Regions from separate parts of the Homo sapiens genome. Here region 2 is linked to region 1. The links are contacts of gene promoters, found by promoter capture Hi-C in human tissues and cell types (Jung and others, 2019). All regions are on one chromosome and are shown on one strand. Each heading gives the region's core, a stretch centred on a gene start or on the middle of the fragment in contact. The rest is flanking DNA. Distances are from core to core; before and after follow the strand shown. Region 1 holds the start of ZNF736 (zinc finger protein 736). Region 2 holds the start of ZNF273 (zinc finger protein 273).

Region 1 (6,987 bases), core at 527-3,026:
CCTTTCTGATGACCATTGGCTGACTTCTAGGGAAATGTAACACCCAGAAAGAAAAGGAAGGTGAGCAGCTGGGGCAACATTGGGAGAGAGTGGGGAGGTGAAAGTCAGCAACACCCTGTGCTATCAGGTGGTGATGGGGATGAGTATCCACTTTTGGGTGTCCATTCAAGGCCTGTCCCTGAAATCTCATAAGCCCCCATCTCCTGGACTCTCCTATCCACATCTTTTACTTGAAAAAGCCAAAGACACGCAGCTGCCTCTCTCCAACTCTCTCCCCTCTTCCTAGCTGGCCTCCAAAAACATGAAGCACTCCCTTATTAACTCTGTGGTGAGATTTTAACAAGTCACAATGTTATGTGGTCCCTAGCTCCACCGTTTCCCAAATCCACTCAGCCCAGCTCTTCCAGGCCTTTACTCTGATTTCTCTTATAGAGGCATTTCAGGGACTGTTGCCACAGGAGGGAAGGGCTGAGGGAGAAAGGCCCCTTGCTCTTTTGATGTGGAGGCCTCCAGCTGGGAGGGAGGAGCTCTTCCCTCTGAATCCCTGGAGCTCTTCCCCATCACAGGTACCTGCCTTTTTGCTGCTTTAGCCTCATCTGGGCTTTCTGTGGTTTCTTCTCTAGGGTGGCCAACTTGGGTGTCTTCCTCTGCCAGGGTCAAGGACAAGGTCAGTGATATTATGCTCCCTTCACCCAGTTATGCCCAGTTACATTGACCTGGTACCCTGGATAACTGGTGTGAGTCAAGCTGGTCCAGTGCTCCTGCCACCTCCAGTAAACTCTGATTCTAGATTCACTCCCTGCTGCAACACTCACTGTGTGTGGAACCTTGGGCATGCAGCCAGGCCTCCCTGAGACTGTTTCTCAACTTGAAAGTGTGATGGGAACCACACCTACCTCACTGGGCCTCGTGAGGACTCAGTTATATGTAGCCGTCACCATTGTTCTCATCATCATCTCTCTCAGGAAGAGCCAGGCACAAGCACTCTCAAATTTTTCTCCTTTGAAGCTCCTCATTACCCTGTGAGGCTCATCATCCCTACATTTTTTAGATAAGAAAACAGAGGCCCAAAGAGGGCAGTGACTTGCCCAGGGCTCTACAGAAGAGGCCGGCTCCTCCCCACACCTGGAGGCCCTGACCTAGCTGACTTTACCCCACAGCCCAGCACTATCCCTGACTAGGGTCCCATCTTGGTTCTCCATGCTTGTTTAGGTCCTCAGGCAGGCTCAGCTTTGGTGGGAAAGAGACAGGGTGTTTTGGGAGGCCTGGGCGAGTGGCACCTCTAACCAATCTGCTAGGCCCTCACCTCTCAGTCTCACTGAGACACTCCATTAATTGGAAGCAGACCCAAAATTGCTTCACAGACTGAAGGTGATAATTGTCTACAGCCAGCTGAAGCAGCTGCATCTCCTGGAGGACTTTGATCTCCTGCAGCTAAAGGGAAAGACAGGATGCTGAGACAGGGCCTGCAGCATACACATAACTATAATTCAGAATGTAATATATACACACACACGAAAATATAATCAGAAAGTGATATAATCTTATATGCAAGGTTAAATACAAATGTCTCTCAGGCAGGGCCAGGCCCCCAGCACAGGGAGGACTCGCCTGAAAACGCTGCAGGCAAAAACCTGTCACCCTTGCCTCATTCAGCCCAGTGTCTGATTACATCTTCTGTCACTTAGGATTGAAACGGGTGGGGCCTGGAGCCCTAGCCAATCAGTGGCGCCAGCGTGAAACTGTCCAATCAAGTGCGCAGCTACAGAGGAAGAGGCGGCCTCTTCAATATGGCGGGGCCTTTGTCTCCTAGCTTCCGGGCTCTGATCCTAGTTCGCGTCTCCACTGTTCCATCTCCTCCGTTCCTGGAGTTCCTCGGTGACTCTACTATAGCTTCTGTTATCCTGTGACCTGCAGGTACTGGGAGATCCATAGGGAGGACGGCGGAACATCTGGAGGCTGGGAAATGGTGAGTGCGTGGAGTGGGTGTCCCGAGAATGGGGAAGAGGCTGTTTGAATCCGGCCGGAACCGGCTGCGGTGGTATCTGGGCCTTCTCGCGGTCTGCTCTGGAGTCTGCATCCCCGAGTCCCCGCGGGCACAGCTCAATCCTCATTTCCCTCCATCGCAGATTAGGGGCTGAGCCAGCAGCCAAAACGCTACGTCTTGTTTTGTCCCTAAACTCGAATTTCTCCCCAGCTCAGATCCCTTCCTGGGCAGCTCTGTGCCGCAACCTCGAGTCTCCCTCCTCCAGATTGTGTGGGGGTGTTGGGAGTGTCATAAGACGGGAATTCTCATTTAGGGTCTGGAGTTCCTCCGTGGAAGAAGCAGTGGGCCGTGGGGTCCCTAGTCCCTCCTTTCTCCTTTTAAAAATAAAATCATGGCCCTTTTTTAAATTTATTTATTTTTGAGACAGTGTCTCACTCTGTTGCCCAGGCTAAAGTGCATTTCGGTTCACTGCAGCCTCCACCTACTGGGCTCAGATGATCCTCTCACCCCAGCCCCCCAAGTAGCTAGGACTAGAGGGGTGCGCCACCACGCCTATTTTGTTTTGTTTGTTTTTGTAGAGACAGGCTTTTGCCATGTTGCTCAGGCTGGTCTCGAACTCCCCGAGCTCAGGTCTCAGGTGATCCGCCCGCCTCGGGCCTCCTAAAGTGCCGGGATTACGTGCATGACCCACCACCCTAGCCTAAATTGAGGCAACTTTAGGATATAATTTGGATGTGTTTTCCAGCCCAAATCTCCTATTTAAATGTAATCCCCCATGTTGGAGGTGGGGCCTGGTGGAAGGATTGTGGGCCCGGATTTCTCACGAATAGTTTAGCACCATTCCTCTTGGTATTGTCCTCTCAATAGTGAGTGAGTTCCCTGAAGTTCATCATTTAGAAGTGTACAGCACCCCACCTTGCCTCTTTTTCAAGCTCTTGCTTCACCTTCATCCATGATTTTAAGCTTTCTGGGTGGGGCCTCCCCAGAAGCAGACGCTGGTGTTATGCTTTCTATGCAGCCTGTGGAACCATGAGCCAATTAATCCTCTTATAAATTACCCAGTCTGAGGTATTTATAGTAATGCCAGAAGCGATTAATACAAATAGTTTACTTGCACAAACAGTAATTTATCAATCAGAGAACACCCAGCTATGATTTGTTGTTTGGGGGCTCAAAGGAGGGTCTTGGAACAAAAGGTTGTTTTTTTTTTTTAAGAGGTATGAGGAAGCAAACCAGATTCAATATTTGATTGGTTACAGTTACGTATTGCATTTGCAGCCCTCCGGTGGAAATGTCCTGGTTATGTAATTAGAGCTTTTTATTGGCAGCTTGTGGTTGGTTAAGCCTAAGTTGTTTTGTTGTTGTTGTTGTTGTTTCTCAAAGTTAATAATTTACCAGAAATTCCTTCGACGTAGTTAGGTTTCCTTAGGCAGAATCCCAGGGCACCATGGCCACTTCAGCCTAATTGCTAGCTATTTAATTATTTTAATGCTCCACAGGGTCGTTGGTTTTCTCTGCATTTTTCAAATGTTTGGCAAGCAGGGTCTCAAATCTAAAACTGTTCTCCCAGCCTAACTGTTCTAGGGACTGTATAAAATTCTAAATTTCCAATTTCTTTCCCACATTCCCAAATGCCAACTATCCCTCTCCAAATCACATTATGAACTATCAGTTCTTTATTTAATTTTAAAACGGATGTGGCATTTTGTTTATTTTTGTTTAACAGAGCCGTGGGTGGCTCTTTTTAATATATTAGTCTGTTTGTGCATATTTCACAGGACAGAAAAGCAAAGAGTAGTCACCTGACACTGCGCATCTCCTCTCATCTTCTCTAGGCACGCGCGCCTTCCCAGAATGTCTTTGGATCCTTTGCAGGGTGATGTGTCCTCAGTCACTCTCCTGTGTTTTCCTGGTCCAAGTATTACAGCTTTCTGGGGATGATCCAAGATACCCACAAGGACCATATCTCTTGGAGTGTCTAGCAAACATTAGCCCCTGGGTCATCTCCTTTCAGAGAAGAGCCTGAGGCATTGGGTGGAGCCTCTCAGGGGAGCAGCTGGATGCCCTCGTGCTGAGAGCAGTTTCCTGATTCACCCTTCCTCTAAAAAGCTAACTGCTTTAACATTAAGATTTTTTTCCCCTCAATCCTAGTTTTCATTTCTTGCAGACACATTGGTGGTCAACCAATCAGGTGCTGATATTGAGGGGAAAAGGCACAAATGCATCTTGCCCTCTGGTTTCTCTCAGGCTTGTGAAGGAGAATAACTGTCCCAAAGTACAGGAAAGATCCACTCTAGTGAGGGAGTGTATAAATTTGCAAAGCAAAATACACATCTGCCACACAGGGGGCAAGTGCAGTATCTTTTGGGAGAGTGATGATCAAGTACTTTAGTGAGCAGAATGGGGGTGGGAGAATCTCTCAAGTGATTGACACATGAGTCTAAAACATTTGTGTTCCAGTCAGCACTACTTCTCCCTGTGTTTGTCACCTTCAATATATATGTTCAGTTATTTCAACTTCAGTTTTTCATTAATTGTATAATGGATTTTATCATTAGAGCTTGAAAGATTAAAAAAAAAATTTTCTAAAAGAAAAGAGGTAGATTTTAGAAAAAAATAGTTTATATTCCATTGGTTGAAAATTCTCATTTACCTTTTATATTTCCCACAGTGAGTGTAGTAAGATTCCGCGTCTGTTCTATTTAGCATGATTTCAAACAGAATCCCAGGGCTTAGCTTTGGGAATGCTACCTGGGAAAAGACAGAGGAAATGTCTCTCTCATGATGCCTGCAGAAAAATAAATACATTTCTACAAGAAAGTGTGGTAGATTAACACGTAAATTACAAAACATTCATGAAAACATCAGTTTCTCTCTTGTGCAGGGTGGAGAATTTGTGACAGTGGCCAACTCATTTTTTTAAAAAATTTCTACTTTGTAGGAAGTATTTATGTGTACACAATAAAAAGATATTTCCCACCATACATACATATCTTTGCTCAGGTAATATATGTAACCTAAAGCAATATGATTGTCTAGTATAATCGTAGCCAGTGAATCAGTAGCTTTTTTTTGAGCTGCAATGGATGTAACAGTTTTATCAGTAATTTTTTCTAAGCTTATAAAAATATTTTTAATCATGTGTTCATGGGAGGTGACACCTCACCAAGGCAAAAACATTTTTTTCCAATAAAATGAATGAAGCTGTTTTTTGAAAGCCAGGCAGATAATTAGCAGATTTTTTTCAAATAGAATCTTAATCTAAAACAGATTGGTGGCCATGCCTGTGGAAAAGTTAGAGAGAATTTGTCCAGTACTGGGTTTTTTCAGAGCTATGTAGAGAGAGCAGTGACCAGATATTTTAAAAGACATTACCCTTCAATTTAGTGGCACAGGTACTGGCCAAGAAAATCTAATATGGTTCCTTCCAACAAATTTGGAGTAAATCTTCTTCATAAAAGTAGAAAATCAAATTTTATTTTTATATTATTAATATTAAAGCTAACCTTAGGAAAGCATTATAAACAGATGTATTCAATCTCAATCAGCTTTGACCATACAAGATTTCTGTAAACCTTTTATAACCCCTTAAAATTTTATTTTTCTCTTTCTCCAGCTTTCTATATCCATTAAGTTTACCTCATTTTCTTTATCTTTTTTCTCTCAATTTTATGTATTTTTTAAATAACCTCTAAACTCAGCAAAATTGCCGTTTCTTTAAGAAAAACCACATTCTCACATCTGTTTCTAAAATATTTTTTTTTCATCAAGAAACACATTTTCTTTGTACTGTGTATGTAAAGTTGTTTCTCTCCTTAACAATAGTTTTAGTTACGAATCTTGGGCAGAATTTTAATTTTTAATAATCTTAATTTATAGTGAAAGCCTGAGAAGTAAGCAATTTTAACTATTAGTCATGAACTAAAATTTTATAAAGATATATTTTCTAATTTTTAGAAACATAGGATTTTAAATGGAAACATTTTTAATGTGGAATAGGGCATACTAACAGATCTAAATATCTTTGGTTTCTGTGAAGAAACCAAAAATATTTAGCTTAAACTTGTATTTAAAAATTAATATCTTAGCATTTTGTCTTACTTGGAGATAATTTAGATGTTTAATGAATAGCCATCATTTAATGTAGCTTAGCAACAGTCTACGAGTGTAGTTTCCATAAAGATTTGAGAAACTATTTAAATTAAACACATTACAAAACAATCAGTATTGTAAGTTTATAAACTTTTGTCCCATTTACATGCTTTATTTATTTATTCTTAACAATTATTTTTGTAAAATCTCATGAAACAGACTAATATACTCATCTAAAGTTAAACTTCCTATTATCCATTTTTATATTACCATGTTGGGCAAGTATCATAAAAGCAATAAAGTTAAATATATACATATTTTGCTGAGAAGTCAAAAGACTTTTTTAAAATTAAACTAACAATATTAAACTAGTCATGTTTACCAAAAGATTTACTCAATTCACATATTCTTAAAAATATTGGGCTTATTTTTTTAATTCATGACCAGTTATCTTTAAGTTAATTCAGTACCATGTAGATAATACACAAAGACATTTATAGACATATATATACATGTAGACACAACATATAACTTACTCATGTTTGTATCTAAAAGCCCTAGAGAGGGAGTTCATTGTAAAAGGGAGTAGAGCTTCAGACCTGAAAAGAAACTGTTTACCCACAACTCTGGGGGCTTCATGAGGAAAAACAGAGGTACCCTGCCAAAAAGGAGAAGCCTGTGGCACTTTATCTGTGCTCTTCAAGGGGTCTCAGGCTGCTAGAAGTTTCCTTTAGTTGTCCTCTATAGTGACAAAAGGTTTTAAGTGGAACATGAGACAGATAGAAGTAAATGGAAGAATTAATTCCAGAGGAGACAGTTTGAGAAGACTTTGTTTTCCAAAGAGCCAGTAAAGTTTTACATTATCCTTGCAAAAATCATGTCGGCAAGAGAAGAAACGGACACATAGA
Region 2 (6,710 bases), core at 3,909-6,408, 590 kb after region 1:
TCTTGCTCTATCTCCCAGGCTGGAGTGCAGTGGCTCCATCTCGGCTCATTGCAGCCTCTGCCTCCTGAGTTCAAGCGATTCTCATACCTTAGCCTCCCGAGTTGCTGGGACTACAAGCGCACGCCATCACACCTGGCTAATTTTTGTATTTTTAGTAGAGATGAGGTTTTACCATGTTGGCCAGGCTGGTCTCGAACTCCTGACCTCAGGTGATCTACCTGCCTCAGCCTCCCAAAGTGCTGGGATTACAGGCATGAGCTACCGTGCCCGGCGCTGGTATGCTTTTTCACAATAACTTCAATTCTAGAAGGGTACCCACTGGTCTTTATGGGGTTTCTGTAACGGATACTGTAACCCTATGCCACCGGAATGGTGCAGACATGCTGATTTTATTAGAATGAGTTCAGCCTTCTTGGTAGACTATTGGTATCCCAGAGGCTGACCATTCACTGCAGCTTATTAAATGTAGCTCCATGATGCCAATGAGTCCTTTCAGCCAGGTTGCCTTTTTCTTCTCATTGATGTAGTCAGGTCGTGATCTCTTTTGCTTGTCTTATGCTATTCCAGATGATAGGTGATTATTTCTTCCGTAAGTGAGACCCTCTTTTCTTTTCTCTGCCATGGGATCCTCCTATGATGTGTCTCTTTCTCTTAAAAGCACTTGTAATCCCAGCACTTTGGGAGGCCGAGGCGGGCGGATCACATGAGGTTGGGAGTTCGAGACCAGCCTGACCAACATGGAGAAAGGCCGTCTCTACTAAAAATACAAAATTAGCCGGGCACGATGGCACATGCCGGTAATCTCAGCTACTCGGGAGGCTGAGGTGGGAGAATCGCTTGAACCCGGAGGTGGAGGTTGCGGTGAGCCCACATTGTGCGAGTGAAACTCCTTCTCAAAAAGCACCGCTGCTTCGGGCGCGGTGGCTCACGCCTGTAATCCTAGCACTACTTTGGGAGGCCAAGGCGGGCAGATCACTTGAGGTCATGTATAATATTATACATAATATTATATATTATTATACATATTTTATATTATTATATACAATAATATATATTACATGAAAAATTACATACTGCTCACATATTAAAATAATATTTTGAATATTAGAATATTTGAATTCTAGAACTAGAATATATAACGATGAAATTGTTACAATAAATTCCACCTGTTTCTTCCTTTTTTTTTTAAGTTTGGCTACTAGAATATTTAAAATTCACATGTGGCTTACATTTTATTTCAGAGAATTAACTCCGTTTTAAAATCTCAGGCTGCCTGCTTAAAGGACCAGAAGCTAGGAAGGTCGTAAAATCGGATATTAAATAATGTTATTATATTTTTTCCATTTGTTAATAGCCATATAATTGTGAACCTCAAATATCTGAGACAGATCTCAGTTAATTTAGAAAGTTTATTCTGAGGCCAGGCGCGGTGGCTCACGCCTGTAATCCCAGCACTTTGGGAAGCCGAGGCGGGTGGATCACCTGAGGTCAGGAGTTCAAGACCAGCCTGGACAAAGTGGTGAAACCCCGTCTTTACTAAAAATAGAAAAATTAGCCAGCTACTCTGGAGGCTGAGGCAGGAGAATCGCTTGAACCCCGGAGGGAGGTGGAAGTTGCAGTAGCAGAGATCGGATCGTGCCACTGCACTCCAGCCTGGAAGACAGAGCGAGACTCCGAAAGAGACAGAGAGAGAGAAAGAAAAAGAAAGAAAGAAAACTGGAAGTGGGGAGGCGGCTTCCAGGTCCTAGGTAGATAAAAGACAAATGGTTGCATTCTTTTGAGTTCCTGATTAGCCTGGGAAAAGGAGGCAATCAGATATGCAATCATCTCAGTGAGCAGAGGGGTGACTTTGAATAGAATGGAAGGCAGGTTTGCCCTAAGCAGTTCCCAGCTTGACTTTTCCCTATAGCTTAGTGATTTTGGGGCCGCAAAATTTATTTTCCTTTCACACACTATACTATTTATTAATATAAATGCATATGACCTTATACACAAGGTTAAATGCAAATACCCCGTGGGTGGGCCGGGCTCAGTTCAGGGAGGAAGCCCTGACTGAAAAGCCTGCAGTTTAGGTTTCATTCTATCTTCTTTCAGCCCAGCAACTGAGCACACCTTCTGTCATTCAGGGCCTGAGGGGGCGGGTCCTTAAACATCCTCCAATCAGGGACGCTGGGCTGGGACCCGTCCAATCAGGCACGCAGCTGGAGCGGACAGGACGGCTTCCGGGATTTGGCGGGGCCTTTGTCTCTCGCTGCAGTCGCAGCTCCAGGTCTCGTCTTCACTGCTCTATGTCCTCTGCTCCTAGAGGTCCACCTTCTGTGGCCCCGTTACCTGCAGGTATTGGGAGATCCACAGCTAAGACGCCAGGACTCCCTGGAAGCCTAGAAATGGTGAGAGTGCCGGGTCCCAGATCCCGAGAGAGGGGGAGGGCCTGGTTGGAACTGGTGGGAAGTGGATGTGGCGAGACTCCGGCCTCCCTGCAGTAGACTCCAAAATCCGCGGCCAGGAGTTCTCCTTGGCGCAGCTCGGCCCTCAGTCCCCTTCAGTCATAAGATGGCTGCTGGGCTGGCAGCCGGGATCCCGGGCGTCCTGTCTCCTCCCTGCGCAGTGACCGTTCCCTGGCCTGGAGCCCTCCCTGGGCAGCTCTGCTGCCGCAGCGCCGCATCTCTCCTCGATGACTCGGGATGCAGGGTTCATGACTAGGAAGAGCTTTGGTCCATGGGGTTCCCAGACCCTCCTTTTTTCTATTAAAAATGTATGGAAGTCACCGCGAAAATATTAAAGAATTTAATCAGACAGTCATTCACAAATTATAGAGCACCCAGCTGTGGTTTGTAGTTTGTGGTCCATGGGAAGGGCTTGAAGGAAAGACTTTTATAAGGTGTGTGATGAAGAAAGCCAATAATTGGTTAGGTACCGTTATGTAGTTTCTTAATTTGTAAATTCAGGGTGGACATTTCCTGGTTATGTCATCAGAGGTTAATTGGCAGTTTATGGTTGGTTAAGCCTGAATTTTGTTTCCCTCAATGTTGTAATTTACAAAAAGTTTGAGTTAGATTTTTTTTTCTTTCTTTCTGAGACAGAGTCTCACACTGTCGCTCAGGCTGGAGTGCAATGGCAGCCATCTCGGCTCACTGCAACCAACGCCTCCCGGGTTCATGCAATTCTCCTGCTTCAGCCTCCCAAGTAACTGGGATTACAGGCGCACGCCGCCACGCCCAGCTAACTTTTCTGTATTTTAGTAGAGTCTGGGTTTCACTGTGTTGCCCAGCCTGGTCTCGAACTCCTGAGCTCAGGCAATCCACCCGCCTCCGCCTCCCAAAGTGCTAGGACTACAGGCGTGAGCCACCGCGCCCGGCCAATTTGAGTTAGATTTTTTTAAAAAATGGGGACCCTGGGACTGGAGCTACCTCAGTCTAATTGCCTGCTACTTAATTGTGTACACACTCTACAGGGGATAGATTTTCCCCTGAAATTTTCACATGTGGCCCAAGCAGAGTCTCAAGACTACTCCCCACCCCCAATTCCTTCAGCCTAACTCTGGCTTGCAGTAAAATACCAAATTTCCAGTTTTTTCTGACATTCCGAAATGCCAACTTCCTCATCCTAATTCACATTATTTTAGTGTACATTTTAGATACTGTATTTTAATTAATCATTTTTTGACACAGCATTGGATAGCACTTTAGAAAAATTTTTTTCTGTTTGAAAATATTTCCCAGGAGAAGAAAGCAAAGAATCATCCCCTGACACTGTATTGTAAAAAAATCTCTGTGCCTCTTTTTAAAATAATCTTCCCTAGGCACAGAGATCTTACCAAAATGTTTTTGGGTCAAGGTTTCCCTTTGGAAACTTTATGGAGTGCTGTTTCCTCAGCCACTCCTCAGTGTTTTCCTGGTTTTGAGTTTTAGTACTGTCTGGGGATAAACCAAGATACCCACAATCGCTATGTCTGCTACAATGTTTAGTGAATATCAGCTCCTGGGTCATTTTCTCCCATAGGACAGTCTCAGGTATGGAGTGTAGCTTCTTAAAAGAGCAGGTGGATGTCGTGGGGCTGAGAGGCATCTCCTGGTGCACTTTTTTTTTTTTTTTTTTTTTTTTTTGAGACAGTCTCATTCTGTCGCCCAGGCTGGAGTGCAATGGGGCGATCGTGGCTCACTGCAAACTCCGCCTCCCAGGTTCAAGCGATTCTCCAGTCTCAGCCTACCAAGTAGCTGGGATTACAAGTGCACGCCGACACACCTGGCTAATTTTTGTGTTTTTTGTAGAGAGGAGGTTTCACCATGTTGGCTGTACTGGCCTTGAACTCCTGGCCTCAAGTGATCCGCCCACCTTGGCGTCCCAGAGTGCTGAGATTACAGGCGTGAGGCACCCCACGCTGGCCACACTTTTTTTTTTTTTTTTTTTTTTGAAAAGCTAACCCGTTGAGACATTAAGATTGTCTTCACCCAATCCAGCTTTCATTTCTTGGAGACAGATTGCTGGTCAGCCAATCAGATGCTGGTATTAAGGGGAAAACAAATAATTTCTTCCCCCTGAATTCTCTTAACATTTGTGAAAGAAAAAATAGTGTACCAAAAAAACTAAAAAAAACTTACTCCAGTGAGATGGTGCAAGAACTTGCAAACTAAAATGCATCTGGAGCAGTAACTGAGGTATAGTGTCTCCGAAGAGGGTGGTCGTTGAGCACTTAAGTGAGCAGGATGGGGTGGGAGAATCAAGGGATCGTGGCCTGACTTGACACGAGTCAAACACATCAGTTTTCTAATCAGCACTGCCACTCTCTGGGGGTTTATCATCTTGAAAAGATTTCTTCACTTTTTTTGACTTCAGTTTTTTATTGTAAGTTGCATTTTATTAGTAAAACTTGAAAGGTAAAAAATTTACAAAAAGGTGGGTTTCAGGGAGAGAAATAATATCTAATTATATAGTCCATTTGTTAAAAATTCTCATTTATCTTTTTCTTTGCCAGAATGAGTTTAAGAATTTTCTCGGGTGTGTCTTTTATGGGTGAGATCAAACAGAATTCCAAGTCTTGGCTTTTAGAATGCTAACCAAGGAAAAAAATAGGGAGAATCTCTTTTTAATTTTGGCTGTAGAAAATAAATACTTTTCCACAAGAATATGTAGTAGATAATTGGTGAGTTACTTAGATTTGTGAAAACATCAGTTCCTCTTTATGCAGAGTACATTTGTAACAGTGAATATCTCTAGTCTATGTCCTGTTATCTTGATTTCTGAGTTTAATGCTGAATTATATGGTAAAACTTGGTACCTCCCAGAAGCGTTCCCATATGACTGTTTACTACATGATTTTTAATAAAAATTATAAAATAATACGTTTATCATCTAAAAGGAATGGATACTTTTGCTTTTCTTGTTGAGGTATAAAATGTAAACACCTTAAAATGTCTTCCCCTTATATGATCACTGTGTTTGAGTAATTTTGCTGGATTTTTTAAACACTTACTTTCAAAAACCAAGTTAATACCTCTGACATGGAAATTAAAGCTTCAGCCCAGTGACTCTAAGCTAAGGCTAATATGGAGCCTGCAAAAGGAGGTTATTAAAGGCCCAGTTAGGTTCTTTTTGGGGAGCCTCCCCTGCAGATGTCCCAGCCTGCTCACACCAGCCATGAAGAAGCCTTTATACTGAGAGAAGCTACAGAGCCCAGGAAAGCTGGGGACCCACAGGCAGATGCAGTTAAAGTTAAGATGGAAGGGGATTAGGAAGGTCTTACTGGAGATGAAGTTGTTACTGTTTTAAGGCAGTTTCTAGACTTACAAAATAAAACAAAGTTATGTAAAAAAAAAAATTTGAATTCCAAAAGAGTGTTGCAACAGGCAAAGTACCAACTATAAGATCTTGAAGGACTGCAAAGTTTAGGCAGACAAGATTAGAAAGAAGGTGGGAGGGGATGGCAAATAGAAGGTGGGAAAATTAGATTTTATATCAGAGAATGTTTTACCCTGAAGTCAGCATGTTCTTAGCTGGGACATAAAATGGTGTATGTTGGTTCAGACTGAGGGTAGCTCAAAATTCTGAGCCTGTGGGAAGAAGATAAACTTAAGTAAAGTTTGATTAAGAAATATTTCCTCTTAGCCACTGAGACCAGTTCAGCTGTTTTTTGTTTGTTTGTTGTTTGTTTTTAATGAGAAAAGGAAATGTGGAGTCTGTGTTTGGTTATGTGATAGGTAAGAAAAGAGCACCATCTAAGTCATAATGGGAGGGTGTTTCTTTCCATCAACTGTTCCTGGAGAGCACAAAGGATGGATAATTTTATTAATCACAGCTATTTACCAGGATTATCTATGTGCTTCATCTTTCCCCACCTCTTTTCTTGGTCCTATACATTTCTTCCATTTGAGTTTTCCTGCGTTGTGTCTTTTATAATAAACTGGTCAACATAACTACAGTGTTTGCTGAGTTCTGTGAGTAGCTCTATCAAATTATTGAACTTGAGGGAGGTTATGGGAGTCCCAAATTTTTAAACAGTAACCCCAGTGTATAGATGGGCCTATGGAATTTGTGACTGGCATCTGCAGTGAGGATAGTGTTGTGGGACTGAGCCCTGAATCAGGGTCTGTGCTGACCCTGGGTGGTGTCAGAATTCAAATGTTAGACAATTAGTTGGTGTTAGAGAATTGCTTGGTATTCCACAAACTCTAGAGATTTGGTACCAGAGGAAAGATATCACAGAAGCCTGG

What was found. The method cuts DNA at HindIII sites, captures the fragments that hold promoters and counts their contacts. A contact is called where the count stands out against the background at its distance.
Region 2: a contact is called between a fragment that was not itself captured here and the fragment with the promoter of ZNF736 in region 1, in 1 of the 25 tissues and cell types used here (lymphoblastoid cells).

Annotation. Positions count from the first base shown.
Region 1 is chr7:64,312,185-64,319,171 of GRCh38, forward strand. It overlaps ZNF736 (zinc finger protein 736), which reads left to right and starts at 1,777. Exons shown (of 4, transcript NM_001170905.3): 1 at 1,777-1,969. The coding sequence starts at 1,967. RefSeq lists an enhancer at 1,830-2,009. The HindIII fragment of the contact is 17,485 bases long and covers 1-4,027 here.
Region 2 is chr7:64,901,030-64,907,739 of GRCh38, forward strand. It overlaps ZNF273 (zinc finger protein 273), which reads left to right and starts at 2,244. Exons shown (of 4, transcript NM_021148.3): 1 at 2,244-2,390. The coding sequence starts at 2,289. RefSeq lists enhancers at 1,239-2,111, 1,779-1,828, 1,849-1,898, 2,112-2,984, 2,299-2,358 and 1 more. The HindIII fragment of the contact is 5,308 bases long and covers 2,505-6,710 here.